7 separate regions of the Homo sapiens genome follow, and regions 2, 3, 4, 5, 6 and 7 are each linked to region 1. Evidence: promoter capture Hi-C in 16 types of primary human blood cells and fetal thymus (Javierre and others, 2016). All regions are on one chromosome and are shown on one strand. The core of a region is centred on a gene start or on the middle of the fragment in contact, and the rest is flanking DNA. Distances in the headings are between cores, read along the strand shown.

Region 1 (4,172 bases), core at 926-3,425:
CATCAAGTATTGTGTAAAATTCTGGCTTAGAGGTGAAGAAATTGGAAAGGGCCCAGAAAAGAATAATGAACATGACTAAAGGTTTGGAAAATGAGATCCAGGACAAAAATTATATAAGTAAAGTTGAGGAAATATGATTAATTTTAGATGTCTTCTTCTACTTTTTTTTTTTTTTTTTTTTGGTTAGAGAAAGGGTCTCGCTCTGTCACTCAGCCTGTAGTGCAGTGGCATAATCATGGCTCACTGTAGCCTTGAACTCCTGGGATCAAGCAATCCTCCTTCTTTAGCTTCCCAAGTAGCTAGGACTACAAGCATGTGCTACTATGCCCAGCTAATGAGATGTCTTATTTGTTTTTCCAGCTTTGAGGAAGCTCAAGCATATCAGAAAATGTTTACAATCAAAAGGTTGTCAAAATGTGAGAGTACATGCAAGTCCATGGGGATTTTTGAGCCCAATTCAAAAGATTGGAAGGACTCTCTGTAGAGATCCTTTCAAATAGGGATACTGTCCCAATTATTTTCCGGAATTCATTTGTCATTCAACAAGCACTTATTGAATGCTTATCACATGACAGTCAAAGTTTTAGGTACAGAGAAATCTCTGTTCTCTCAGAGCTTACATTCCAGTGGGGAAAGACAGACAGTAAACAGTAACACAACAAACATAAATAGTTAAATTATATAGTATGTTAGAAGGTGATATAAAAAGTAGAACAGAATAAGGGGATCAGGAATAGGAATTTTGCACATTTAAAAGGGGTGGTCAGGATAGGACGCATCTTTGAGCAAAAGCAAATTGATGCAACTAAAACGTAGAATTCTGATTGGGTTAAAGGAAAAGAATGGTGATCATACTTTGCATTTACCTTGTGATATGCAGTTTACAAAGCTTTGCCACTCAGTCAGGGGTCACTGGAGGAACTGGTGCAGAATTTGGAAAAAAAGGATGAATTCCATTTTAGCCATATTACGTTTTAAGTGCCACAGGAAATAAATGCCTATCTGGTAGTCAGAAATGCAGCCCTGGAGCTAAGGAGAGATATTTGTGATAGAGATGTCGATTTGGAATCACTGTAATACCTTTGCTGGCTGAAGCGGTGGGAATGAATGGGTGAGCTCCCCAGGGGACAGCAGAGTGATGAGGTCAAGGGGAGAAGCTCACTATTAAATGTCTACATTTCAGGAGATGAAGACAAAGAAAAATGGGCAGAGGAGTATACATTTTACCCGGATCAGAGATAGAGACAAGGCAAGAAGGCTGCGTTATTAGCATTTTAAAATTTCCTCTTTCATTTCTTCCTTAATGTAAGCTGGTTCTTTTCACGACAAAACACTCCCCCCGCGCTACACCTCTTTTTGCGCGAATCTTTCTCCAGGACCTTAAAATGGTTTACTGAGCACTTCCCGCGAGCCAAGTATTTGGGGTTCCAGATCCTGGGATTTTGTCCTGACACTGCCTCCTCGTTTTAACACCCTTGCCTCCTTCTGCAGTGCCAGTTTCCAGGGAGCTGAAGCACAGGAAAGGCCTACAGAAAACAAAAGGCACAGTTTCACAAAAAGCCAAAACCAACCAACCCACAAAACACAACTGTCAGGGGTCTATATCCAGCACCTACCGCCTTTCCCCAACGCCCCCAGCCCCGCCCCTCGGCCCCACCTCCTCCCGCCCCTCGGCCCCACCTCCTCCCCGCCCCCTCGGTCCCACTCCTCCGCGCCCCCTCGGTCCCACCTCCTCCCCGCCCCTCGGTCCCACCTCCTCCCCGCCCCCTCGGCCCTCACCCACTCTCCGTCCCCTCCGCCCCGCCCCCTACGCCCCACCCATCCTCCCGTAGGCCCCGCCCTCGGCCCCACCTCCTCCCCGCCCCTCGGCCCCACCTCCTCCCCGCCCCTCGGCCCCACCTCCTCCCCGCCCCTCGGCCCCACCCATCCTCCCCGCAGGCCCCGCCACTCGACCGCACCCACCAGGGCCCCCCCCCCCCGGCTACGCCCACCCACCCACCCACTGGCCCCGCCCCTCGGCTACACCCACCCTCGTGCGGGCCCCGCGCGTCTTCCCCACCCCGCCCGTCTGCCTACCCCGCCCCTCGCCCCCACACGTTCTCTACGCAGGCCCCCGTCCCTCTGCCCCACCCTGTTCTCGCCACTGGCCCTGCCCCCATTTGCCGGCGCCCTTCCTCTTCGCTTCCCCGTAGCTCCCGCTTTCGCCTCTTCGTTTATGACTCCGTTGGGCTCCGGCCCTCCTAGAGAGGCCTCCATAGCGCAGGTTCGTGGGTTCTCGCGGACCTTTTTCCGTGTAGCTTTCTGCTTCTTCCCGGCATTCCTGTTTCCGTTTTCTCACAGCCCTCTGGCTTTTCCACCACTGAGACACTTTGCGCTCAGGACTTCAGTGACGTCATCTTTCTGCGGCGCGCGGACACCCGCCGGTGGAAGAAGAAACAGCTCCGCCGTCCTTCGCTTCTTTTGCTGGGCTGCTGCTCCTTCGGCATCATGGCGCCGTCGCTGTGGAAGGGGCTGGTGGGCATCGGTCTCTTTGCCCTAGCCCACGCCGCCTTTTCCGCTGCGCAGCGTAAGTGCCTGGGGCACGGGGACCGCTTCGGTGTGGAACCCTAGGGGCGGTGTGTGGGCGCACTTCTAAGGGACCATCGGACCGAGTGTCAGATTAATGGTCCTTTGAGACCTTACAGTTTGGGGTGACTAAGAAAATCAGTGCAGGAGTTCCCAGTGGAAGGTTCGGAGTTTGAATTTGGAGAGAGTGTGGCACCTGAAATTGCAGGAAGGTTGGAAGGAGGTGTCTGGGAGAGGGTTCAGAATAGGAGTCTCCAGGAATCCAGGACAAGTGATGTCAGATCCAGCATGGGGCAGATCAGGCACAGTTGTGAGATTGAGGACTCTGGTTGCTCATGGTCCCACGACAACCAAGTGGACAACATCTTGGGCACTCTTGGGCTGTCCAGGCAGAGACTGAGTAGTTAAGTGACCGATTGCCTCAGGGAGGCACTGTGGTACAGGAGAAAGAGCACTGGACTGGGAGTCTAAAGGACTGGTTGTTAAAAACTTGCATTACCGCTACATCTGTGTGACGTTGGGCAAAAGATTTGTGCTACACTGCGTTATGAAATTCAGTTTTGGGTCGCTGTTTGAAATTGCGCTGTGTTTAGGTGCTAGAGATACAGTGATGCCCTGAGCCAGTTCAAAGTCTAAAGGAAAACAAGTGGATCAAGAAGTAGTTACAATAAAGTGATATGCTAAAAGTATATAAGGATGCATGGAAGCAGGGACAGTCATATTTTGGGGGAACTGGGAGGTTAAGGAAAGTATCCTAGATCCTTGCTGCTTACAGTGTGATCAACAGACCAGCATCATGAGCACCACCTGGCAGGTAATTAGAAGATACTCAGGCCAGACCTGTTCAATCAGAATCTGGGTTTTAATAAGATCCCAGGGTGATTTGTATGCGCATTAGTTTGAGAAACACTGTCCTGGAAGAGATTAGGATACACTGGAGTACTGTGTCATTTTCTACAGTAAGCTTTAACTGTAGAATTATATGATTGTGGGGCGAGAAGGGCCTTTGGAGTTCACTGAAGTCCAACCCCTTCATTTTACAGATGAGGAAATTCCTGGTTAAAGGTAGTGTTAGAAGCAGGCGAGGCTTCATGCAAACTAGCAAGCTAGCTAGGAATTGAACCAGATAGGAGATTAGTCAAAATCGATTTTTGGTGTTGGTTTGATGTTTCTTTTACACTTGTCTTTATGACAGAGCTGTAGGTTAAAACTTAAGAAATGTCTCTAAACACATTCTTCTTCAAGAGTCAATACACATGCACTCAAAAACAGTTTGAATTATTTAGTCCAAAGTACGTTATTAAATAGGGATTGTCCTAGGTTCATCTAGAATTAAGATTTTTGTATTTTATGTTTTGGGTGATGAGAATGCCTTGTGGATTTGCCACTGCAGTGAGACCTCTTTATATATAATGCTCATGTTAGGGAGAGAGTAATATGTAACTTTAAGACTAAGTGTGTCATGTCAGACTGTAGCAGCAGATAGCACAATGTGGTGCTGTGGCATGCTCATCTTTGCTGTAATGAACTTTGTTACAGTAGGGCACCAGTCATTTACTGTATCTTGTTTAATCCTCACCTCACATTATTCTCATTTTACTGTTGTG
Region 2 (4,172 bases), core at 734-3,233, 970 kb after region 1:
AGGAGAACAAGACCATTGCAAACAGTCTGTCCTGCCTATAGATGTGCTACACTGGGTGGTTGGGCATGGCTCTCTCCCTGGGATTTCATAGTGATCTTAAACAGCCGGTTTCAGAAACTCTATTCTTTCCATTCAGTCTAGAGGGGCCCAAGCTGCAGTGTCTCACCTCTTGTGTTAGGGTTTTACTAGTATGCTAAGCTCAAATCACTTCTCCAATTGCAGCTGAAACTTGATTGATATGCCTTTTATTACCCTCTCTTGTGTTACAGAATGAGTCTCACATTAGGCTGTGAACCACTCCCAGCCAGCTACTGTTGCCCACGCCTCCATATGTGTGCCACTCTTCCCAGAGATTCTCTGAAATGTTGTTCTGGGCAGTGGGGAGTTTGAAAGGGACTGAAGGATTAGGGAGCAGATGGCCAGTGACGTCCAAGTTATTACCATTAACCAAATTCCCTTCTAGCACTGTCTCAGCCGATGGCGGCCACACACAGTCTTTGAAAGCTTGTGATGGGCATCCAGTAATGAATCTTGCTCTGTTACCCAGGCTGGAGTGCAGTGGTACAATAATAGCTCACTGCAGCCTTCAACTCCTGGGGTCAAGCGATTGTCTTGCCTCGGCCTCTCGAGTAGCTGGAACTACAGGCATGCACTACCACGCCCAGCTTATTTTTTTCTTTTTTGTAGAGAGGGGGGTCTTGCTATATTGCCCAGGCTGGTCTCAAACTCCTGGCCTCAAGCAATCCTCCTGCCTCAGCCTCCCAAAGTGCTGAGATTACAGGTGTGAGCCACTGCCACTCAGCCCAGATAAGGCTTTCGATGCCCAGTTGCACTGGCCCCCAGATAGTGGAGGGTCATTGGCCAAGTACATGTCATCTTCCCTCATTTTTTCATTATACAAGGGAATGTGTGAGTTAAGATGACCATTGTCTCAGAAAGCCAGGGACACACTGAGACAGGAATTGCTGCTGCTGGAGGTTCCCTGAGCTATCACCATCCATAGACTAGGGAGTATATAAGGCTGGTTCACCCTGCCATCCTAACTCCCCAGAGAAACTGTAAGTGACGATGAGGAGCCTGGATGGAGAGGGGCAATGTCTGGGGAAAGAGACATTATATGAGGGCAAGATGCGGTAAATGCCCTCAAGGAAGAAATAGGACCTACAGGGTAAGAAACTAAAGAAAAATTTGGTGAGATTTGGGGGATGCTTCTCACATGTATTTTTAACTGAGGATTAGTAATATAATAAAATAAATAAATAGCAAAATCACAAACCCATCAAGTTCCCTATTGTAATAGCTACAATTAGCCCAGTTACTACCTCTGACAGACCCTGTGCTGAGCATTAGTCTGTATCATCTTTCTTCATGCTTATAGTAATCTGGGCAGCCAGGCCCTATATGTATGTCTCAGAGAAGTCAAGTCACTTGCTCAAGGACATACTGTTAGTAATTTGCTGAGGCAGGATTAAAACCCAGGCATGTGTGATTCTATACCTTGTTTGATCTTAACCCCACAGCACCCTAGAATGGACAAGGGCTGGTACACAGATATTCATTAAAGAAAATTTGAAAACAGAGATTATTAGAAAAAAATAGCATTATTCTTACCATATAAACTGAAACAGTTTATATCTTGTTTTATTGTCATCTAGTCCTTCTTTTCCATATATATTTATAACTCTATTGTGTTTGCAATTTATTTTCCATTGCTTTGACTTAATTTATGTGCATTACCTTATTGCTTCATTTTTTGTAACCTGTGTTTTCATGTTTTTTTTTAAACAACTGTGTTCTTTTTTATTACAAAACTGTTCTCTATCTTATTGCAAAGGACTTGTCAATTCATAATGGCACAAAGGAGAGAATAACAAGTGAACTATACAGAAAGTGACTCACCAGAGATAATTACTTCAATTTTTTCTTTTAATTGCAAAGACACAATGAGCAGAGGAGTAAGCAGCAGTTATTCCAGTCGGAGTTGGGTGCATCTGTGGAAAGTGCCAAACGGACCTGTTTCTCCCTCAGAGAACATTTCTTCCCCTTCCTGTTGTGTGCCCCCTTCTGCCTCCCGGTTTCTGCATAAGACAGGTGGGCTTAGAATTGTCACTGTAGTCTGGGGTAGAGTGGATTCTAGGCAGCTGGGGGCAGCCGTAGGGCATTGTCCTCCTAAAGGCTGTGTCAGAGGGTGGAGGCAAAGAAAAATGTCCTTTTTGTCCCGATTTGGACCCTATTTCAGGTCAGTGGGTATGATTTTGCCATTTGCTTTTAGTCTTTCACCAACGTCACAAAATTACATTACCACTCCGATCTTTATATTTCTAAGCATCACCGGAAATGCATGGTTGTGGAGGCGTGTCCATGGGGCGGAATGTGGGCCTGTCCATGGGGCGGAATGTGGGCTTGGCCATGGGCGTGGCCTGAGTGCTTGCGCGGGCTCCGCCCCCAAAGCCCGATGGTCACTAGTGCGCAAGCTCAGAACGGGGCCGGGCCGCGGCTGTGAGAACGTGGGGGAGGGCTTAACTCTCTTCAGGAGGCGGGGTCTGAATCAGAAAGGTGGGGCCAAGATTTCCCAAGGCAGGCGCGGGCGAGGGGCGGTGCGCGGGGGAAGATCCCAGGACAGTTTGCGGTGTGAGGGGAGATTGCGCCCGCTGCCCAAAGAGAGCAGAGGACACGTGTTCTGGAAGGTGATGCGGCCTCCTACCGTACTCCTCCCCTCACCTAACTCATCAGCTGTAGCGTGTCCCTTTACTGACTCTCGGCTGTGGACGCCACTGGAGTGAGGTTCTGTGAACACATTTTCCTCCTTCATGCATCTCTCAGCCAGATTATTGGCTCCCTGGCCGCAGATGTGGTTACTTTGAAACATTAATAGGAAAGCCCCAAATATTAGCAAACATCCAGAGCAGCACATTCAAAGAGTAATGCACCATGAACAGTTAATAGAAGGTGGGTTAAATGTTCAGAAATCTATTAATTTGCTATATTAGGACACTAAATGAAAATAATTATAGGACATCTTCAGAGATGCTGAAAATATAAAAATAGGAGGGATTGTATTATTTTACCAGAAACATTTGCTTTTAGTGTTTTACCAACACCACAAAATTGAATTGCCACTCTGATCATTACATTACTTTCTTTAACATCATAATCACATATATGCACATAATACACCATTTACTTAGGGCAGTCAGTTTTAATGACACTTCTGTTTCTTTCATGAATCATGTGTTTTTATGAGATACTGCTGTGTGTCAACCCCCCTTGGATGCCCAAAACAGCTCAGCCCAAAGAAGATGCGGTTCGAATTTAAAATACATAATTTAATCATGGGTTTAGAGTTAGGATTTTAAGTAAAACTCTTACTAATTTTTATATACATACATACTACATATATACATACATACTACATACTACATATATATACATATAATATTGGAACATTTAAGAGAAGCTTAGTTTCACTGTTACCGGTTTACTTTTTTATTTTTTGAGATGGAGTCTCGCTCTATTGTGCAGGCTGGAGTGTAGTGGCGCGATCTTGGCTCACTGCAACCTCTGCCTCCCAGGTTCAGTCAGTCCTCCTGTCTCAGCCTCCCAAGTAGCTGGGATTACAGGCACATGCCACCATGCCTGGCTAATTTTTTAATTTTTAGTAGAGGCGAGGTTTTGCCATGTTCGCCAGGCTGGTGTTGAACTCCTGACCTCAGGTGATCCTCCCGCCTTGGCCTCCCAAAGTGCTGGGATTGCAGGCATGAGGCACTGCACCCAGCCTGCTTTTTTAAATAAATAGAATGATTTAATAATCATGATGGATTTATCAAGACTTATATTTTTCATCTCCCAAGTCTACACTTCCTCTGTCTTCCCCATCTTGGTAAATGGCAACTCTTTCCTTTCTGTTGCTCAAGCTAAAGGCCTTGCTGTCATCCTTGAATCCTCTGTTTCTTTCATGCCCCACATTAACTCAAGTCTACCTTCAACATACAACCAGAATCTGACCACTTCCTGGCACCTCCACTGTTATGACCTCTGTCCAAAACACCTTTACACCTCTCCTGGATTATTCTAATAGCCTCTTAACTAGCCTATCTAATTCTTCACTTTCTTGATAATGGCCAGTTCTTGTAAATATCTTTTGTTGAACATATGTACATGTTTCCATTGGG
Region 3 (4,172 bases), core at 851-3,350, 930 kb after region 1:
ATGGACCAATGTAACAGAATACAGAGCCCAGATAGAAAACCACACAACTACAACCATCTAATCTTCGACAAAGTTGACAAAAACAAGCAATGAGGAAAGGAATCCCTATTCAATAAATGGTGCAGGGATAACTGGCTAGCATACGCATAAGACTGAAACTGGACCTCTTCCTTACACCATATGCAAAAGTCAACTCAAGATTGATTAAAGACTTAACTGTAAAACTTTAAACTATAAAACCCCTTGAATAAAACCTAGGAAATACCATTCTGAACATAAGTCCTGGCAAAGATTTCAAGATGAAGATACCAAAAGCAATTGCAACAAAAGCAAAAATTGACAAATGGGACCTAATTAAACTAAAGAGTTTCTGCACAGCAAAAGAAACTATCAACAGATAAACAGATGACTTACAGAATAGTAGAAAATAATCGCAAACTAGGCATCTGACAAAGGTCTAATATCCAGAATCCACAAGGAACTTAAACAATTTCAATGAGAAAAAAAAATCTCATTAAAAAGTGGACAAACAACATGAACAGACACCTCTCTAAAGAAGACATGCAAGCAGCCAATAAATAAGAAAAAAATGCTTAACATCACTAATCATTAGAGAAATGCAAATCAAAACCACAATGAGATACCATCCCACACCAGTCAGAATGGCTATTATTAAAAGGTCAAAAAATAAGAGAATGCTTGCAAGGTTGCAGAGAAAAGGGAACACTTATACACTGCTGGTGGGAATGTAAATTAGTTCAGCTACTGTGGAAAGCAGTTTGGCAATTTCTCAAAGAACTTAAAATAGAACTACCATTCAACCCAACAATCCCTTTATTGGGTACATGCCCAAAGGAATATGAATTGTTCTACCATAAAGACATATGCATGCATATGTTCATTGCAGCACTAGCAATAGCAAGGACATGGAATCAACCTAAATGCTCATCAATGGTAGACTCAATAAAGAAAATGTGGTACATATACACCATGGAATACTGGGCAGCCATAAAAAAGAATGAGATCACGTCCTTTGCAACAATAAGGAATGAGCTGGAGGCCATTATCTTAAGTGAACTAAAGCAGGAACAGAAAACCAAATACCACGTTCTCACTTACAAGTGGGAGCTAAACATTGAGTGCACATGAACACAAAGAAAGAAACAATAGACACCAGGGCCTACTTGAAGTTGGAGGGTGGGATGGGGGTGAAGATTGAAAAACTACTTATTGGGTACTAGGCTTATTACCTAGGCAACAAAATAATCTGTATGCCAAAGCCCTGCGACATGCAATTTATATAACAAACCTGCACAGGTACCCCTGAAACTAAAATTTTTTTTAAAAAAAGAACATATAAATAGTTGCCACCAGTCAATAAAATGAGAAACCAATAAAAAATAGGTGAGATTTTTGAATGAGTGTATTAGTTAATTTTCTGTTGCTTATAACAGAATACCTGAAACAGTGTAATTTTTTTTTTAATAATGTATTCTTACAGTTATGGAGGCAGAGAAGTCCAAGTCAAGGGGTCACAACTGATGAGACCCTTCCTGCTGGTGAGGACTGTTTGCAGAGTCCCAATATGGTGCAGGGTATCACATGGTGAAGGAGCTGAGTGTGCTAACTTGCAAGCTCAGATTTCCCTTTCCCTTTCTCTTCTTATAAAGCCACCAGTTCCTTTCCCAGAACAACCCATTAATCCATTAATCTATGAATGAATTAATCCATTTACTTTAAGAGATGATCCAATCACCTCTTAAAGGCCCTACCTCTCAATATTGCCACACTGGGGATTAAGTTGTGTTAGTCTGTTCTCATGCTGCTGTGAAGAAATACCCAAGACTGGGTAATTTATAAAGAAAACAGGTTTAATTGACTCACAGTTAAATTGACTCACAGTTCTGGGGAGGCCTCAGAAAACTTAGGATCACAGTGGAAGGCACCTCTTCACAGGGTGGCAGGATAGAGAATGAGAGCCAGATTCTCTCTTCCTCCTTCCTTCTTTTCTCACTTTCTTTCTTGAGTTCTTGCTTTCTTTTTTCTCCTTTCCTGCCTTTCTCCCTTCCTCCCTCCCTCCCTTCTCTCATTTCCTCCTTTTCTTTCTTCTTTCCTTCCTTCCTTCTTTTTTCTTTCTTTTCTTTCTCTTTACTACAATCCATATTATTTAAAAAAAAATTAAGAAAGAGAGGCAGAAAAATAAAGAACACTTTAATCTGCAGGTAAATAAAAAAAAAAAAAAAAAGAGAATGAGAGCCAGCAGAGAAAATGCCAGATGCTTATAAAACCATCAGCTCTTGTGAGACTCACTCATTATCATAAGAATAGCATGGGGAAAACCGCCCCCATAACTCAGTTACCTCCTGCTGGGTCCTTCCCACAACATGTGGGGATTATGGGGATTACAATTCAAGATGAGATTTGGGTTGGGGGGACACAGCCAAACCATATCAAGTTGCACCATGAGTTTTAGTGGGGACAAATATTCCAACCATAGTAATCGGCATTTCATTAAAAAGGGTAGCAAAGTGGGTAAAAAGCATATGAAGAGACACGCATTATCATTAGTAATAATAGAAATGTAATTTTTTTTTTAGAAACAGGGTCTCACTCTGTCACCCAGGCTGGAGTGCAGTGGCACAATCACAACTCACTGCAACCTGGACTTCCCAGGCTCAGGTGATTCTGTCAGCCTCTTGAGTAGCTGGGACTACAGGTGCATACCACCACACCTAGCTAATTTTTTTTTTTTTTTTTTTTTTTTAGAGATATGGTCTCACTATATTGTCCAGGCTGGTCTGGAACTCCTGTGCTCAAGTAATCCTCCCACCTCAGCCTCCCAAAGTGCTGAGATTGCAGGTGTCAGCCACTTCACTCAGCCTAGAAATGCAAATTTAGCACAATGAGATATCACCACAGACTTATCAACTTATACCTCAATAAATAAGAGTGAACACTTGAAACACACAACATAGATGAATCTCACAGACATACAGCATAAATTCTGTATAATTTCATTTACAAGCAGTTCAAAAACAGGTAAAGTTTATCTTTGGTAATAAAGGTCAGAAGAATGTTTATACATAAGAGGCTCCTGCCTGAGAGGGGGCATGAGAGTCCTTTTGAATGCTGGAAATGTTCTATACATTGATCTGAGTGGTGTTATACTGATGTATACATATGTAAATGTTCATCTAGTTATACACTTAAGATTTTTATCCTTTGCTGGATGTAACATATCTCAGTTTTTTTAATATCAGAAAAAGAAAAAGGATTGTATATTTAGATAAGCAGTAGAAAAGTTACAGAACACCAAACACAAAGAGATCTTTCAAACAACTAAAGAGGAAACACAAAATTAGGCTGACAAATAATTTTTTAATAGCAAAAATGGAAGCTAAAAGACTACAGAATAATGCTGTTTCCATCAATTCTATTCAAATTTGTCACTTTTTAATATCTCTTATATCAAGGTGTTTATTACAATCAATCAAAATTATGAATTGTTGTTGGCCCAGGGGCTGCTGTGACATAATAGTTACTGCCTGCTTACATGCAAACATTAAAAGCACCTGTATCAAAACTTGCCAAACTGATGACGATGGATTAACGGGAAAAATTTAGGACAAAAAAGTGAAATTGTCATTTAAGAACTATTGCATCACTAAGGTTTTGGTGGTACATAATACAATATTATATAGAAAAAAAGAGATATGAATGGTTCCACAAGTCAAAGAGACTCAACAAGAATAATTTTAAAAGAATGAGGATAAAATAACTTTTCAGAAAATGAAAGACATCACAGTTTCCCTAATAGACCATTATTAAAGGAGTATATCTATAGGATATACTTTAGAAGAAGGAAAATGTACTAGTATAAATGTCTGGAATGCTGGCAAAGAAAATGGCAAATACATGGCTAAATCTAAACAAACAATAGCATAAATGTCTAATTTGAAGATGAAAAAACAGAGCTAAAGTAATGAGAAGAAGAACATTTACCCTGGGAGGCAATTATTTGTAATTAAAACGTTCTAAGTTCCTTGTATTAATTCATTACTTTTTTCTACTCATTAAGAAGTTATACATTCTATTTACATTATTTTAGTGATCACTCCAAAAAGTTAATATGCATAGTTAACATATAAATTTAGTCAATACAAAGTAATTAA
Region 4 (4,172 bases), core at 820-3,319, 940 kb before region 1:
AACGGATTTTTTTAAAGTAGATAAATAATAATACAGGTGCTTGACATATAGCAAAAATTACCAAGGTGGTATGTGAAATGACTGAAATATAAGAAACACTGCCAGGTGCAGTGGCTCACGCCTGTAATCCCAGCACTTTGGGAGGCCGAGGCGGGTGGATCACTTGAGACCAGGAGTTCAAGACCAGCCTGGCCAACATGGTAAAACTCCATCTGTACTAAAAAAAAAAATACAAAAATTAGCCGGGTGTAGTGGCAGACACCTATAATCCCAGCTACTCAGAAGGCTGAGGCACGAGAATCACTTGAACCCGGGAGGTGGTGGTTGCAGTGAGCCAAGATGGTGCCACTTTACGCTAGCCTGGGTGACAGAGAGAAACCCTATATCCAAAAAATAATAATAAAATAAAATATAAAAAATAAAGAATACTTTTTTGGCAGGGTGTGGTGACTCACTTTGGGAGTCCAAGGTGGAAGCACTGCTTGAGGCCAGGAGTTCAAGACCAGCCTGGGCAACATAGCTAGACCCTGTCTCTACAAAAAGAAAATAAAAATAATAAAAAAAAAATAAGGTGACAGCAAAAAAGAAAAAACAAAGGCTGGGCACGGTGGCTAACACTTGTAATCCCAGCACTTTGGAAGGCTGAGGCGGGCGGATTACGAGGTCAGGAGTTCAAGACCAGCCTGGGCAACACAGTGAAACCCCGTCTCTACTAAAAATACAAAAATTAGCTGGGCGTGGTGGCGGGTGCCTGTAATCCCAGCTACTCAGGAGGCTGAGGCAGGAGAATTGTTTGAACCTGGGTGGTGGAGATTTCGAGTGTGCTAGATCACGCCACTGCACTCCAGCCTGAGCAACAGAGCTAGACTCTGTCTCAAGAAAAAAAAAAAAAAAAGACAAAAAAGAAAATCAAAACTTAACCAGGCATGGTGGCACATGCCTGTAGTCCTAGCTACTCAGGAGGCTAAGAGGATCAATTGAGCCCAGGAGTTTGAGGATGCAGTGAGCTATGATTACATCACTTTGCTCCAGCCTGGGCCACAGAACAATACCCTGTCTCAAAACAAACAAACAAAAAACTTCTGAAAGGAATTGAAAAATTAATTGAGTCATGTTAATTTTTTTTTTTTTTTCTGAGACAGCGTCTCACTCTTTCACCCAGGCTGGAGTGCAGTGGTGCAATCTCGGCTCACTGCAACCTCCGCCTCCCAGGTTCAAGCAATTCTCATGTGCCTCAGCTTCCCAAGTAGCTGGGATTACAGGTGCCTGCCATCATGCTCGGCTAATTTTTGTATTTTTAGTAGAGATGGGTTTTCGCCACGCTGGCCAGGCTGGTATCAAACTCCTGAGCTCAAGCAATCTGTCCACCTTGGCCTCCCAAAGTGCTGAGGTGGCACGCCACCTCACCCAGCCAAGTCATGTTATTTCAGATGCCAAACCTACCAATGATGCTAGTAATTCAGTCGTATTACTTTCTTCAAAAAAAGCCAGCTTGTCCATTTGGTCTCGATCGTAAGATTTTACACAAATTTTTACACATTTCTGTTTTGTTAAAACTGTTAAGAAAAAAATTGAAAATATTAAGAGATTTGGCTAAAGTTTATAATTCAAATGTCATGAAATAAGCAATTTATCTTACAGGTAAAACTTCTTCAAAGACTTCAGTATGCCATTATTCTCTACATTTTCCTCTTCTACATTTTCATTCCTAACTGAAATGATTACAACTAGACACACACACAATGCTGTCATCACTGAAGAGAAGAATTTGTCTTCTTCAGTAACATACAAAGTGGGATATGAAATAAGCAATTTGTCTTCTTCAATAACATACAAGGTGGGATATGAAATAAGCAATTTATCTTACAGGTAAAACTTCTTCAAAGACTTCAGTATGCCATTATTCTCTACATTTTCCTCTTCTACTTTTCATTTGTAACTGAAATGATTACAACTAGACACACACACAATGCTGTCATCACTGAAGAGAAGAATTTGTCTTCTTCAATAACATACAAGGTGGGATATGAAATCCACCCTAGCTTCCTAAGAACTACCCTGATATACAATCCTTCACTTAAAAGTGACAATAAAATTGATGGTAGTGGTGGTTGTACAACTCTGTGAATATACTAAAAAACACTAAATTAGACACTTTAAGTGGGTGAATTATATGGTACGTGATTTTTCTCTGAATAACACTGTTACCAAAAGAATGTGATCATAAAATATTTGATACTTTTAATACAAAATTTCTTATTTACAAGGTCTAGCTATGGAGGATTATCAAGGTAAAGTGCCAGTGGTTTTTTTACTTTTTGTTTTTTGTTTTTGAGACGGAGTTTCATTCTTGTTGCCCAGACTGCAGTGCAATGGCACCACCTCGGCTCACTACAACCACCGCCTCCCAGGTTCAAGCAATTCTCCTGCATCAGCCTCCCGAGTAGCTGGGATTACAGGCATGCACCACCATGCCCGGCTAATTTTGTATTTTTAGTAGAGACAGGGTTTCTCCATGTTGGTCAGGCTGTTCTTGAACTCCCAGCCTCAGGTGATCCGCCTGCCTCGGCATCCCAAAATGCTGGGATTACAGGCATGAGCCACCGCACCTGGCCCAGTGTTATTATTATTATTATTATTATTTTCTTCCAGAGCCTTCAGATGAAATGTGCCAATGTTATGAATCAGGAAATAATGAGCATGAGTAAACAATGAAAAACAGAGTCATATTTTAGCACCTACTGTCCTGAAATAATACAAATATGAACCAAAAAAGAATCTTATTGGCAGCAGAGTTGTACTACACTGCCAAGTTTCTTCAGTCCAAGGGATAGCATTTCTTGATAAGGTACACTTTCCTGTTAGAACAATGGCACTCCACAAAGGTATTGCATGCAAATTTAATCATCAAAAAGCTAATGCCTGACACACAAACCAATGTAACAGTACAACAGAAAACTCAGAAATACAGCCATACAACTATGCCCAAGTGATTTTTTACAAAGGTGAAAAAGTTGCCAGGCTCGGTGACTCACACCTGTAATCCCAGCACTTTGGGAGGCCGAGGCAGGTGGATTACTTCAGGTCAGGAATTTGAGACCAGACTGGCCCCGTCTCTACTAAAACTACAAAAATTAGCTGGGCGTGGTCCCAGCTACACAGAAGGCTGAGGCAGGGCCAGGTGAGGTGGCTCACACCTGTAATCCTAGCATTTTGGGAGGCCAAGGTGGGCGGATCACATGAGGTCAGGAGTTCGAAACCAGCCTGGCCAACATGTTGGAACCATGTAGAAAGATGGAACCATGTAGTAGAGATGGAACCCCATCTCTACTAAAAATACAAAAAAAAATTAGCCGGGCATGGTGGCGGATGCCTGTAATCCCAGCTACTTGGGAGACTGAGGCAGAAGAATTGCTTGAACTCGAGATCACACCACTGCACTCCAGCGTGGGCAACAGAGCAAGACTCCATCTCAAAAAAAAAAAGAAGAAGAAGAAGAAGGCTGAGGCAGAAGAATCGCTTGAGCTCAGGAGGTGGAGGCTGCAGTGAGCCAAGATGGTGCCACTGCACTCCAGCCTGGGGGACAGAGCAAGCCTCTGCCAAAAAAAATTTGAAAAGGTGCAAAAGCAATTTCACGGAGGAAGGATAGATAGTCTTTTCAAGAAACCATGCTAAAGAAATTAGATATCTATAGGCAAAAAAAAAAGTTAATCTCAACCTTTCACATCTTCCAACAACAAAAAACCCAAAATGTATCACAGACTTAAATGTGTGAACCCCAAATACCGGAAACAGGTCTCATTCAGTATAGAAAGTTTATGTTGCCAGGTGCAGTGGTTCACACCTGCAATCCTAGCACTTTGGGAGGCCGAGGTGGGTGGATTACCTAAGGTCAGGAGTTCGACCAGCCTAGCCAGCATGGTGAAACCCCATCTCTACTAAAAATACAACAACAACAAAAAAAAATTAGCTGGGCGTGGTGACGGGTGCCTATAATCCCAGCTACTCGGGAGCCTGAGGCAGGAAAATCACTTGAACCCAGGAGGTGGAGGTTGCAGTGAGCCGAAATCGTGCCACTGCACTCCAGCCTGGGAGACAGAGTGAGACTTCATCTCAAAAAAAAGAAAGAAGGAAGGAAAGAAAGGAAGGGAGGAAGGGAGGGAGGGAAAAAG
Region 5 (4,172 bases), core at 1,123-3,622, 910 kb before region 1:
AAATACCATAAACTGGCTGGCTTATAAACAACAGAAATTTATTTCTCACATTTTTGTAGGCTGGGAAGTCCAAGATAAAGACGCCAGCATATTCAGTGTCTGGTGAGGGCCCACCACCACCAGTTTTCTGGTTCATATAAGTGGCACCTCACTGTGTTCTCACATGGTGGACAGGGGCCTCTTTTATAAAAGTGTTAATCCCATTCATGAGGACCCTACCCTTTTGTGACCTAATCTTCTCCCCAAATCCCCGCCTCCTAATGCCATCACCTTGGGTATTAGGATTTCAACATATGAATTTGGGGGAGGACACAAACATTTAGACCATAGCACCATTAAACACGATACCTATCATATTCATCTAACAATTGTTCTTTCCTCCCCGTGTCCACTGCCGCCACCCTGATTCAAGCCACCATCCTCTCTTTCTGGTCTGCTCCCACAGCCCTATTAGTGTCCTTTTTCCCACACTTACCCCCTACAGTCATTTAATGGGCTCAAAGGTCCTGCCAATCTTGGCTCCCTCATTTCATGCCCCTCATATTCTTGTCACCTGGCCCTCTTTCTGTCCCTTGATATATGCCAAGCTCTTCCTCTCTACTTTGTGTTTACTATTCTCTTCTTTTCCTGAAGGTTTTTCCCTCAGCTGTTCCCATAGCTAGTTTCTTTTCTTCCTTCAGCTCTGATCTCCAAAGTCACCTCTTCACATAGACCTTCCCTGATGTTTTAATCAAATTTGTTCTCCCTAATATTGTCCATCAAAGCAACTAGTTTATTTCCTCCCTGGCATTAATCACAACATGCCATTCTTTTGTTAATTGTATTCAATTTCTTTAAGAAAAAAATTAAAAAATTTTTTGGTTTCCCCCCTCAACAAGTAGGATGGGCAGATGAAATATAGAATGCTCAGTTAAATTTGAATTTCCGATAAACAGCGAATTTTTAAAATATGAGATTTGGGACATACTATACTAAAAAAAGTATTCGTTATCTGAAATTTAAACTTAACTGGGCGTCCCTTTTTTTTTTTTTAGACGAAGTCTCGCTCTGTTGCCAGGCTGGAGTGCAGTGGTATGATCTTGGCTCACTGCAACCGCCGCCTCCTGGGTTCAAGCAATTCTCCTGCCTCAGCCTCCCGAGTAGCTGGGACTACAGGCACACGCCGCCACGCCCGGCTAATTTTTTTATTTTTTATTTTTATTTTAGTAGAGACGGGGTTTCACCATGTTGCCCAGGCTGGTCTCAAACCCCTGAGCTCAGGCAATCTGCCCGCCTCGGCCTCCCAAAGTGCTAGGATTACAGGCATGAGCCACCGCGCCCCGGCCGCGTCCCATATTTTTATTTAAAATTTTTTAACAGCTTCGCAGAATAAATTAGCGTCCCGCATTTTCTTTTTTATTTTGAGACGGAGTCTCGCTCTGTCGCCTGCCCAGGCTGGAGTGCGGTGGCGCAGTCTTGGCTCACTGCAACCTCCGCCTCCCGGATTCTCCTGCCTCAGCCTCCCGAGTAGCTGGGACTACAGGCGCGTGCCACCACGCCTGGGTAATTTTTTGTATTTTTAAAAAGAGACGGGGTTTCACCGTGTTAGCCAGGATGGTCTCCATCTCCTGACTTCGTGATCCACCGACCTTGGCCTCCCAAAGTGCTGGGATTACAGGCGTGAGCCACTGCACCCGGCCTGGTATTTTCATTTATTAAATCCGGCATCCTTACCCACAGGCCTGACTCTTGTCTTTTCCCTGGAGTTGTATTTTCCTGGCCTAGCCCAGAGCCCACCATTTACAAGGTGCTCAGTAATTGTTCTATATGAATGTACTATCTGCATGCTGTTTTGTACGTTTTTTACTCATCTGAAATTTACATGTATTTATCAGAAATTCCCACACTCACTAAAAACACTTGTTAAAGACAATTTTTGAAAATATATTATATTGCCAAAACTTCTTTGTTTTCCGTTTCTGCAAAATTGGTATAGTAGGAGTATCTACCCTCATCACATTTTGACAATTAGAAGAGTTAATGGAAAAGTAAAAGTAAAGTTTTGCACCGTGCCCGGCCCACTAGGACGCTCAATAAACTTCAGTTCTTTATTAAAGGAAGCCTGTGCACCATTTTAGCGTAAAGCAAAAAAAGCGCGTTTGTAAAGAACGGGTGGGGGTAGAGAAAACGGTTAGAAAGGTCTGTCGACCCAACACCGAGGGCCCGGGAAAAAGGGAGGAGAGAAGGGTGAATGACAGAGGAGCCAGCCAATGGGGAGACTGGGAACTACTTCCCCCCTCCCTTTGCGTTTCAAATTCTAAGCTCCGTTTCCATCCGGGTCCTTCAGCCTCGTTCCCGGGCAGTATAAAGTTTGCTGTCTCCTTTGTTCGCCCTCGTTGCGCAGTAGTGCTAGCGGCTTCGCGGTTCGGTCCTCGCACCCGGCAGCCGCCACTGGTGCTGAGCTGCTAGGAAGCCCCTATCGCCGAGCTCGTTGGAGCTTGAACCCATTGTCACCCCTCCGGTACGTGTCTCCTTTCCTCAGTCCGTTTTTCGTGACACTCTCCCCGTGTTAGGACTGGGGATTATATCTCCCTGGAGATGGGGGTGGCGGGCGCCATTTTAAGAACCCAAAGGTTCCGACCTATTTAAATAAAGCTGAGGGGGTCGAGGGAAAACAAATGAGGGGGCCCGTTTGGTTGTATGCTTCTCGAGAAAGTTTGGCTGCCATCTGCGGGAGTTGGTAGCGGAGGTCGGGGCTTTGTAGGCTGGAGCGGGGCGAGGAGCGACCGCACCACGGCGATACCTGCATTGGTATGGCGCTGGCGCTAATGATGGGCATGTGGACTTCCATGCGGGCTGCGGGCTTCGTATTCATTGGCGGCCCCGGAGAAGAAGCCCTCTGAATGTTCCCAGCCAATGTTGGTGGTAAAAGTTAGTCCCCTGACCAGTGTCGGTGGTTCTGGGTTGAATCCAAGTGTCGCCATTTTGTCTTTTACACGCGGTTTTTAATGACGAGTTTTAATTAGGTTCCGCTGCAGTCACGGAGTGTCGAGTGTTAGTGTGTGCGTCCGCGTTCCGTTACTTAATAGCAAACGATGTTGACGATTTGTTTTTATCTTTTTGGCCGGATAGTAGAATTTTCGGTAGGGCGGGGGCCGGTGAAGAAGAGGGGCGGCATAACTTGGCTTAAACTTCACATTTCTCCTTGGATTTAGTAGGGAATCCTAATGAGGAAAAGAGGAGTCGTTGGAAGAGGGCTTGGTGTTAAGGTCCTGTGTCTAGCCTGTGACCTTGGGAGTCTTTTAAAACCATCGTTAGGAAGGGTGTGATGAGTAATTGAATCTTTCAAAGGCAAGAGGACTGGAACTAAAAGTTGCTTTTTCAAATGTTAAGCAGCTGTTGCTTAAGAACAGCTAAGGGTGATCAAGGGTAGTGGTAAAAGTTAAGTTGGCCCTTTTAACCAGTTTTATGTAAATTGCAGTGTTACTAAACTACTTAGTTCAAATTGCTTCCTACTGTGGCTGAGGCTTAGCTCGTTATCGTTTTCTTTAGTTATTAAGGAACAATGGTTTTAGTGGAAAATATGAGAAATGTGCGAAAGTAAAAGTGTCCAATAAACTTGAGGAACTTTTTGCAGTGAGGTAATACTATTCCTTTTCAACAGACTCACCGGCCCAAAAAAAAAAAAACATGGTTGAAGCAGATCGCCCAGGAAAGCTCTTCATTGGTGGGCTTAATACGGAAACAAATGAGAAAGCTCTTGAAGCAGTATTTGGCAAATATGGACGAATAGTGGAAGGTGAGTTGTCTGGCAGTACAGGCTGGGCTATTATAATTAAAATATAAGCTATGATGAATTTGATTGCATTGATCGTCTGACATGATAATGTATTTTTGTCCTCTAAGAAGTTCTGAGCTTTCTGTTTACACATTTACTTTGGTTATTTCATTTGACCTAGGGTAACACTTTATTTTTCTGAAAACTACTTTTTAGTACTCTTGATGAAAGACCGTGAAACCAACAAATCAAGAGGATTTGCTTTTGTCACCTTTGAAAGCCCAGCAGACGCTAAGGATGCAGCCAGAGACATGAATGGAAAGGTGAGATTGTCTACACGATGGATGATAACCTGTTACTAGTGCATAAAATAACATGTAGTTGTCCAAGTCTGGTCTAGGACAGCTTTTGAGTT
Region 6 (4,172 bases), core at 1,086-3,585, 880 kb after region 1:
AAAGAAAAGAAAAATCCAGGGCTTGGATGGGGGACAGACCTGGGAGCCCTCTCCAAATGGAGCTCCCCAGTGGGCGCAGCTGGGGCCACCCTGAGATGGGTTCACCTGTCTTTTCTCCATCCTCCCTCCAGAGATTGATTGGGACCTAAGAGATTGAGTCAGGAGAGGGCAAGAGAGCAGCTAAGCAGGCAGTTCCGGGGGCACCAGAGCAAATACATTAAGAAGTGGGAAATATAAAGAGCATGCAAAACCTCATCCTACTCCTGTTCACCCACCCACAAGGGAAACTGCTGCGTTTGGACAAATTTCTACTTTGTGTTGGTGGAGGGAAGGAGAAAGAACATACTACTTTGAAAACTTCTCCTCCCACTTCATCTTTATCTTTCCATGTTATTAGGTATTTTTCTATATCCAAAGCCACCTAGTAGTCTCTTGTGTGAAGGTATCATGCATTTCTCATGCCTCTTGGTTGTTTCCCTTTATTGTTTATTTGGGGAGTTTGGTTTCTTGGTTGTTTGGTTTTTTTCTGTGGTTTTGTTTTTATAAACATTCCAGTAACAGATAAGTTGGACCTCATCAAAATTAAAAACTTTTGTGCATAAGAAGTCACTATCAGGACAGTGAAAACACAACCTGCAGAGTGGGAGCAAATATTTTAAAATATATATCTGATAAGAGACTTGTATCCAGAAATATAAAAAGAACTCTAGCTACTCAACAAAAAAAGACAGACAACCCAATCAAAATATGGGCAAAGAGTTTCAATACACATTTCTCCAAAGAAGTGATACAAATGGCCACCAAGCACATAAAGATGCTCAATGTCATTAGTCATTAGGGAAATGCAAATCAAAACCACAATGAGCTCACCTCACCCACTTCACACATTAGGATATTTATTTATTTATTTATTTATTTAGAGACAGAGTCTTCAATGCCCAGGCTGGAGAGCAATGACACAATCTCAGCTCACTGCAACCTCTGCCTCCTGGGTTCAAGTGATTCTCATGCCTCAGCCTCCCAAGTAGCTGGGATTACAGACGTGCACAACCACACCTGGCTAGTTTTTGTGTTTTTTGTAGAGGCGGGATTTCACCATGTTGGCCAGGCTGGTCTTGAACTCCTGGCCTCAAGTGATCAACCCTCCTCAGCCTCCTAAAGTGCTGGAATTACAGGTGTGAGTCACCACGCACAGCTCAACTTTTTTTAAAAAAATTAAAATAACACGTGTTGGTGAGGATGTGGAGAAATTGGAACCCTTGTTCATTACTAATGGGCATGTAAACTGGTACAGCAGCCACTGTGGAAAACAGGTGGTTCCTCAAATAGTTAAACCTAGAATTATCCTATAGCCCAGCATTTCCACTCCTAGGTACATACTCAAATGACTGAAAGCTGGTACTCAAACATGAATTTTCATAGCAGCACTATTTACAATAGCTAGAAGGTGGAAACAACCCAAATGTCTATCAGTCTATCAACTGATGAATGAATAAACAAAACTTGGTATATTTATACACTGGAATATTATTCAGCCCCAAAATAATCCCACAATGAAGGATTTGATACATATTACAAGGTGGATGAACTTTGAAAATATTATGCTAAGTGAAAGAAATCAGACACGAAAGATTACAAATTTTATGATTCCATTTATATGAAATGTCTAGAATATGTAAATTCATACAGACAGAAAGCAGATTAGTGGTTGCCATGGTCTAGGGGAGGGAAGGATGGAGAGTGACTGCTTAATGAGTACAGGGTCTCCTTTTAGGGAGATGAAAATGTTTTGGAACTAACAGTGGTGATGGTTACACAACATTGTGAATGTACTAAATGCCACTGAATTATACATTTCAAAATGGTTGATTTTATGTTATGTGGATTTCAACTCAATAATGAAAACAAAATTTGCTGACACATTTTACTATCTCACCACTGGGCCTTTTCCATAGATGAACTTCTCTCCTGGCCTTTCATTCAATCCCCTGCAGCCCTTGTCCTGCCCCTGTGGTATAAAAAGCTTACAAAAGTAGCCCCATCCCATTAGTTCCCAAGCAATCCTAGCCCTCAACTCCTTCCCCATTAGGGTGGCTCAGAGAGTGGGAATCTCTAGTGAACGATGGGATCATTGAGGACTGATCTGGCCATATTCCTCAACTGCCTGACCAGTGGAGAACAGCACAGACTCCTTGACTCTTCCTCCTGGCCTCCTGTTTTGGAGAAAAAGCAGAACATTCCCCTCCCATGCTGGCAGGCTCGCCCACACTGCCTTTAGTCTGGGCTCCTGGCTCTAACCCTGGGGCCTTCTCCTTGGACATGGATGTCTTGGCCTTGTAGTTAATGGATGCCACAAACACATGAATGCCTGACCCTCTGGACACAACCCCACATCATCTCACATTCCCAGTTCCTCCCAGGAAGAGGATCAAGTGACAAGCAGGACCCCAGGCAACAGCAACCAGCCGAGGCGGCTCAGTCACTTGCCACAATATTTAAATATGACATTGATGAAGAGCAGACATTGAGTCTGTATTAGTCTATTCCTACACTGCTATGAAGAAATAACCAAGACTGGGTAATTATAAAGAAAAAGGGTTTACTTGACTCACAGTTCTGCATGGCTGGGGAGGCCTCAAGAAGCTTACAATCATTGTGGAAGGGGAAGCAAACACATCCTTCTTCACAAGGTGGCAAGAGAGAGAAGTGCCGAGCAAAGGGGGAAAAACCCCTTATAAAACCATCAGATTTCATGAGAACTCACTCATTATCATGAGAACAACATGGGGTAACCAAGCCCATGATTCAATTACCTCCCACCGGGTCCCCTCCACCACATGTGGGGATTGTGGGAACTATAATCCAAGATGAGATTTGGGTGGGGACACAGCCAAACCATATCATTCCACCCCTGGCCCCTCCCAAATCTCATGTCCTCACATGTCAAAACACAACTATGCCTCTCCAACAGTCCCCTAAAGGCTTAGCTCATTCCAGCATTAACCCAAAAGTCCAAATCCAAAGTCTGAGACAAGGCAGTTCCCTTCTACATAAGAGCCTGTAAAATTGAAAGCAAGTTAGTTACTTCCTAGATATGATGTGGGTACAGGCATTGGGTAAATACATACATTCTAAATGGGAGAAATCGGCCAAAACAAAGGGGCTACAGGCCCCATGCAAGTCCGAAATCCAATAGGCCAGTCATTATGCCTTAAAGTTCCAAAATTATCTCCTTTGACTCCATGTCTCATATCCAGGTCATGCTGATGTCCACGGCCTTGGGCAGCTCTGCCCTTGTGGCTTTGCAGGGTACAGCCCCCCTCCCAGCTGCTTTCACAGGCTGGCATTGAGCATCTGTGGCTTTTCCAGGCACACGGTGCAAGCTGTTGGTGGATCTGCCATTCTGGGGTCTGCAGTCTGGAGAATGGTGGCCCGCTTCTCACAGGTCCACTAGGCAGTGCCCCAGTGGTGACTCTGTGTGGGGGCTCCAACTCCACATTTCCCTTCTGTACTGCCCTAGCAGAGGTTCTCCATGAGGGCTCTGCCCCTGCAGGAAACTTCTGAATGGACATCCAGGCATTTCCATATATCCTCTGAAATCAAGGCAGAGGTTCCCAAACCTCAGTTCATGACTTCCGTGCACCCACAGTCTCAACACCACATGGAAGTCACCAAGGCTTAGAGCTTGCACCCTCTGAACCAATGGCCTGAGCTGTACCTTGGCCTCTTTTAGCCACAGCTGGAGCTGAAGCACCTGGGACACAGGACACCATGTCCTGAGGCTGCACAGAGCAGGGTGGCCCTGGGCCTGGCCCAGGAAACCATTGATCCCTCCTAGGCCTCCAGGCCTATGATGGGAGGGGCTGCCATGAAGGTCTCTCACATGCCCCGGAGACATTTTTCCCATTGTCTTGGTGATTAACATTCAGCTCCTCGCTACTTATGCAAATTTCTTCAGCAGGCTTGAATTTCTCCCCAGAAAATGGGGTTTTCCTTTCTGTCACATCATCAGGCTGCAAATTTTCTAAATTTTTATGCTCTGCTTCCTCTTGAACATTTTGCCACCTAGAAATTTCTTCCACCAAATACCCTAAATCATCTCTCTGAAGTTCAAAGTTCCACAGATCTCTAGGGCTGGGGCACAATGCTGCCAATCTCTTGTCATAGCAAGA
Region 7 (4,172 bases), core at 786-3,285, 870 kb after region 1:
GAATAAATCCCTGGTGAACATCAAAATTAATGAAGAAATTTAAAAATTATTTGAAATTAATGAAAATTGGGACACATCAAAAATTTCTGGTATGCAACCAAACCAGTGTTAATAAGAGGAAACTTTATAGCCCTAAATGCTAGAAGTTAGAAGAATCTCAAATTAACAATCTAACTTTGCACCTAAAGGAACTTGAAAAAAAAAAACCCAAAGCTAGCAGAAGACAAGAAATAACTAAAGTTAGAGAAGCACTTAATGAAATGCAAAAATACATACAAAAGATCAATGAAACCAAGAGTTGGTTATTTGAAAAACGAAATAAGATTGATAGATCACCAGCTATATTAACAAAGACAAAGAAAGAGAAGATCCAAATAAGTACAATCGGAAATGACAAAGGCAATATTACAACTGATCTCACAGAAACACAAAAGATCCTGAGAGATGACTATGAACAACTCTCTGGATACAAACTAAAAATTTACAGGAAATGGATAAATTCCTAGAAGCACACAATCTCCCAAGAATGAATCACGAAGAGATTGAAACCCTGAATAGACCAATATCAACTTCTGAAATTGAATCAGTCATAAAGAATCTACCAACCAAAAGAAGCCCTGGACCAGATGGATTCATAACCAAATTCTATGAGATGTGCAATGAATAACTAATATCAATCCTAGTGAAACTATTCCAAAAAAAATCAAGGAGGAGGGGTTCCTCTCTAACTCATTCCATTAAGCCAACATCAGCCTAATACCAAAATCTGGCAGAGACACAATGAAAAAAGAAAACTTCAGACCAATATCCCTCATGAGCATAGATGCAATAATCCTCAACAAAATATTAACAAACCAAATCTAGCAGCATATCAAAAAGTTAATACACCATGATCAGGTAGGCTTCATTCCTGAGATGCATGACTGGTTCAACATATGCAAATCAATCAACAAGGTTCACCACATAAACAGAATGAAAAGGAAAATCATATGAACATCTCAATAGATGTACAAAAAGTTTTCAATAAAATCCAGCTTCCCTTCATGATGAAAACCTTCAACATACTAAGCATTGAAGGAACAAACTTCAGAATAATAAGGTTCTATGGCAAACCCACAGCCAGGTTCATACTGAGTGGGCAAAAGCTCAAACCATTCTCCTTGGTAACTGGAACAAGACAAGGATGCCCACTCCCACCACCCCTTTTCAACATAGTACTGGAAGTCTTAGCTAGAGCAATCAGGCAAGAAAAAGAAATAAAAGGCATCCAAATAGCAAAAGAAGAAGTCAAACTATCTCTCTTCACTGACTATATGATTCTGTACCTAGAAACCCCTAAAGACTGTGCCAAAAGGATCCTAGAACTGATAAATCACTTTAGTAATGTTTCAGGATACAAAATCATTGTACAAAACTCAGGAGCATTTCTACACACCTGCAATATCCAGGCTGAGAGTGAAATCAAGAACATAACCCACTTACAATAGCTACAAAGAAAATGAAATACCTAAGAATACAGCTAACCAAGGAGGTGAAAGATCTCTGCAAGGACAACTACAAAACAATGATGAAAGAAATCAGAGATGACATAAATAAATTTTTAAAAATTCCATGCTAATGGGTAGGAAGAACTAATATAGAAATGGCCATACTGCCCAAAGCAATTTACAGGTTCAATGCTATTCATATCAAACTGCCAACATCATTCTTCACAGAATTAGAAAAAAAAACTATTCCAAAATTCACATGAAGCCAAAAAGGAGCCTGAATAGCCAATGCAATCCTAGGAAAAAAGTACAAAGCTGGAGGCATCATACTACCCAACTTCAAATTATATTATATACCCACAGAAATCAAAACAGCTTTTTGTACTGGTACAAAAACAGACACATACAGCAATGGAACAGAATAGAAAATTTGGAAATAAGGCCACACATCTACAACCATCTGATCTTCGACAAGGCCGAGAAAAACCAGCAATAGGGAAAGGGCTCCCTATTCAATAAATGGTACTGGGATAGCTGGCTAGTCATATGTAGAAGACTAAAGCTGGAACCCTACCTTTCACTATATATAAAATTTCACTCAAAATCAATTAAAGAGTTAAATGTAAGACCTCAAACTCTAAAAATCCTGGAAGACAGCCTAAAAAATACTCTTCTCAACATCAGCCTTGGCAAAGAATTTTTGACTAAGTCCCCAAAAGCAATTGCAACAAAAACAAAAACGGACAAATAAGACCTAATTAAACTAAAGAGCTTCTACACAGCAAAAGAAACTGTCAATAGAGAAAAAAAAAACACAGATAACATGCATAATGGGATAACATATTCACAAACTATGCATCCAAGAAAGGCCTAATATCTAGAATCTATAGTGAACTTAAATTGACAAGAAAAAACAAATAACTCCATTAAAAATGGGCAAAGGATATGCACAGACACTTCTCAAAAGAAGACATACAGGTGGCCAACAAATATTATAAAATGCTCAATATCACGAATCATCAGAGAAATGGAAATCAAAACCACAGTGATATACCATCTCACACCAGTCACAATGGCTATTACTAAAAAGTCAAAAAATGACAGATGCTGGCGAGGCTGCAAAGAGAATGCTTATACCTGTTGATAGGAATGTAAATAAATTCAGCCACTGTGGAAAGTAGTCTGCAGATTTCTCAAAAAACTTAAAACAGCTACCATTCAACCCAGCAATCCCATTACTGGTATATACTCAAATGAAAATAAATCATTATACCAAGAAAACACATGCACTCATGTGTTCATGGTTGCACTATTCACAATAGCAAAGATACTGAATCAACCCAGGTGCCCATCAATGGTAGATTGGATAAAACAAATGTGGCACAAATACACCATGGAATACTATGCAGCCATAAAAAAGAATGAAATCTTACTACTTTGCAGAAACATGGATGGAGCTGGAGGTCATAATCCTAAGCGAATGAACACAGGAACAGTAAACCAAATAGCACATGTTCCAGCTCAAAAATGGGAACTAAACATTAAGCACACATGGATATAAATATGGAAACAATAGACACTGTGGACTACTAGAAGGGGGAGGAGGGAGGAAGGGAGAAGGGTGAGTTGAAAACCGATCTGTTGGATACAATGCTCACTAGCTGGGTGACAGGATTCATATCCAAAACCTCAGCATCACACAATATTTCCATGTAACAAACCTGCAAATGTACCCCTGTGTATCTAAAATAAAAGCTGAGACTGGGCACAGTGACTCATGCCTGTAATTCCAGCACTTTGGGAGGTTCAGGTGGAAAGATTGCTTGAGCCTAGGAGTTTGAGACCAGCCTGGGCAACATAGTGAGACCCCCATCTCTACACAAAAAAATTTTAATTAGCGGGGCATGGTGGCATGGCCTGTAGTCCCAGCTGCTCAAGAGGCTGAGGCAGGATTGCTTGAGCCTGGGAGGCAGAGGTTGCAGTGAGCCAAGATCGCATGACTGAACTCCAGCTTGGGTGACAGCACAAGAGCCTGTCTCAGAAAATAAAATAAAATAAAAGTTGAAATTTAAAAATAAATAAATAATAATGCTGATTGTGAATGCAAATACACTGGGTTCACAGACTCCCACCTAACCTATCTCAGAGCCTCAGTTTCCACCTCCTTACAAGCCCCCTTCACTGCAAGTACAGGCAACAGAGACCTGTCACAACCCTTTAGTCACAACCCTTTCAAATTACTGGATTTTAGACGATAATTACTCTTCAAGATGGCTGCTGAAATTTAAAGATGCTAAAAAAGCTAAAGTGCAACATGAATATAACAATCAGACTCTTACAATGGAAATATTTTATGACTTGATAGAAACCTGACACGATCATCACCACGTTTCTGTGTGTGCCAGCTGGCATGGTACCTGGGGAAGATAAATGAGGCTACAACAATTTTTGGTCCCAATTCTGAATCCTCCCACAGACAAGGTGACAACTAGAGCTGGCTACAAACAGGAAATTCAGTCTGTAAAAACTGAAGAACTTGGAGTTTTAACAGCCAGTGAGCAACAATTTTTGATACATTTACAAAAATGTTTTTTAAAATTCTAAAAAGAGGAGGACTGTTCTCTCACTCTCAATAAAATATTAGAAACAGACACATAAAATGACAAACTATTCTCTCGATTGGTG

Evidence for each region. Contacts are between HindIII fragments. The CHiCAGO score rates a contact against its expected background, and 5 or more counts as called.
Region 2: a fragment that was not itself captured here is called in contact with the fragment with the promoter of MMGT1 in region 1 in 7 of 17 cell types (neutrophils, non-activated CD4 T cells, naive B cells and 4 more); the score reaches 7.7 in neutrophils.
Region 3: a fragment that was not itself captured here is called in contact with the fragment with the promoter of MMGT1 in region 1 in 1 of 17 cell types (neutrophils); the score reaches 8.7 in neutrophils.
Region 4: a contact is called between a fragment that was not itself captured here and the fragment with the promoter of MMGT1 in region 1, in 5 of 17 cell types (fetal thymus, total CD8 T cells, non-activated CD4 T cells and 2 more). The highest score is 8.6, in fetal thymus.
Region 5: a contact is called between the fragment with the promoter of RBMX here and the fragment with the promoter of MMGT1 in region 1, in 12 of 17 cell types (naive CD8 T cells, neutrophils, fetal thymus and 9 more). The highest score is 13.2, in naive CD8 T cells.
Region 6: a contact is called between a fragment that was not itself captured here and the fragment with the promoter of MMGT1 in region 1, in 1 of 17 cell types (monocytes). The highest score is 6.5, in monocytes.
Region 7: a fragment that was not itself captured here is called in contact with the fragment with the promoter of MMGT1 in region 1 in 3 of 17 cell types (neutrophils, naive B cells and total B cells); the score reaches 6.7 in neutrophils.

What each region holds. Positions count from the first base shown.
Region 1 is chrX:135,971,991-135,976,162 of GRCh38, reverse strand. MMGT1 (membrane magnesium transporter 1) reads left to right here and starts at 2,175. Exons shown (of 4, transcript NM_173470.3): 1 at 2,175-2,566. The coding sequence starts at 2,488. It also overlaps a transcript of SLC9A6 not described here. RefSeq lists a silencer at 1,977-2,086 and an enhancer at 2,097-2,626. The HindIII fragment of the contact is 2,640 bases long and covers 892-3,531 here.
Region 2 is chrX:135,002,531-135,006,702 of GRCh38, reverse strand. No RefSeq gene overlaps it. Among named protein-coding and RNA genes, the nearest start is that of SMIM10, 14 kb to the right of the region's middle. RefSeq lists enhancers at 1,612-2,120, 2,121-2,631 and a silencer at 2,539-2,598. The HindIII fragment of the contact is 2,953 bases long and covers 507-3,459 here.
Region 3 is chrX:135,039,545-135,043,716 of GRCh38, reverse strand. No RefSeq gene overlaps it. Among named protein-coding and RNA genes, the nearest start is that of RTL8C, 9.3 kb to the right of the region's middle. The HindIII fragment of the contact is 5,942 bases long and covers 1-4,172 here.
Region 4 is chrX:136,911,514-136,915,685 of GRCh38, reverse strand. No RefSeq gene overlaps it. Among named protein-coding and RNA genes, the nearest start is that of RBMX, 33 kb to the right of the region's middle. The HindIII fragment of the contact is 5,729 bases long and covers 1-4,172 here.
Region 5 is chrX:136,878,925-136,883,096 of GRCh38, reverse strand. RBMX (RNA binding motif protein X-linked) reads left to right here and starts at 2,372. Exons shown (of 9, transcript NM_002139.4): 1 at 2,372-2,500; 2 at 3,644-3,778; 3 at 3,974-4,080. The coding sequence starts at 3,670. SNORD61 (small nucleolar RNA, C/D box 61) reads left to right here and starts at 3,826; the gene lies at 3,826-3,898. RefSeq lists enhancers at 2,249-2,847, 2,517-2,976, 2,987-3,046, 2,848-3,447. The HindIII fragment of the contact is 13,799 bases long and covers 1-4,172 here.
Region 6 is chrX:135,088,961-135,093,132 of GRCh38, reverse strand. No RefSeq gene overlaps it. Among named protein-coding and RNA genes, the nearest start is that of SMIM10L2B, 7.7 kb to the left of the region's middle. The HindIII fragment of the contact is 620 bases long and covers 2,026-2,645 here.
Region 7 is chrX:135,105,327-135,109,498 of GRCh38, reverse strand. No RefSeq gene overlaps it. Among named protein-coding and RNA genes, the nearest start is that of SMIM10L2B, 8.7 kb to the right of the region's middle. The HindIII fragment of the contact is 6,245 bases long and covers 1-4,172 here.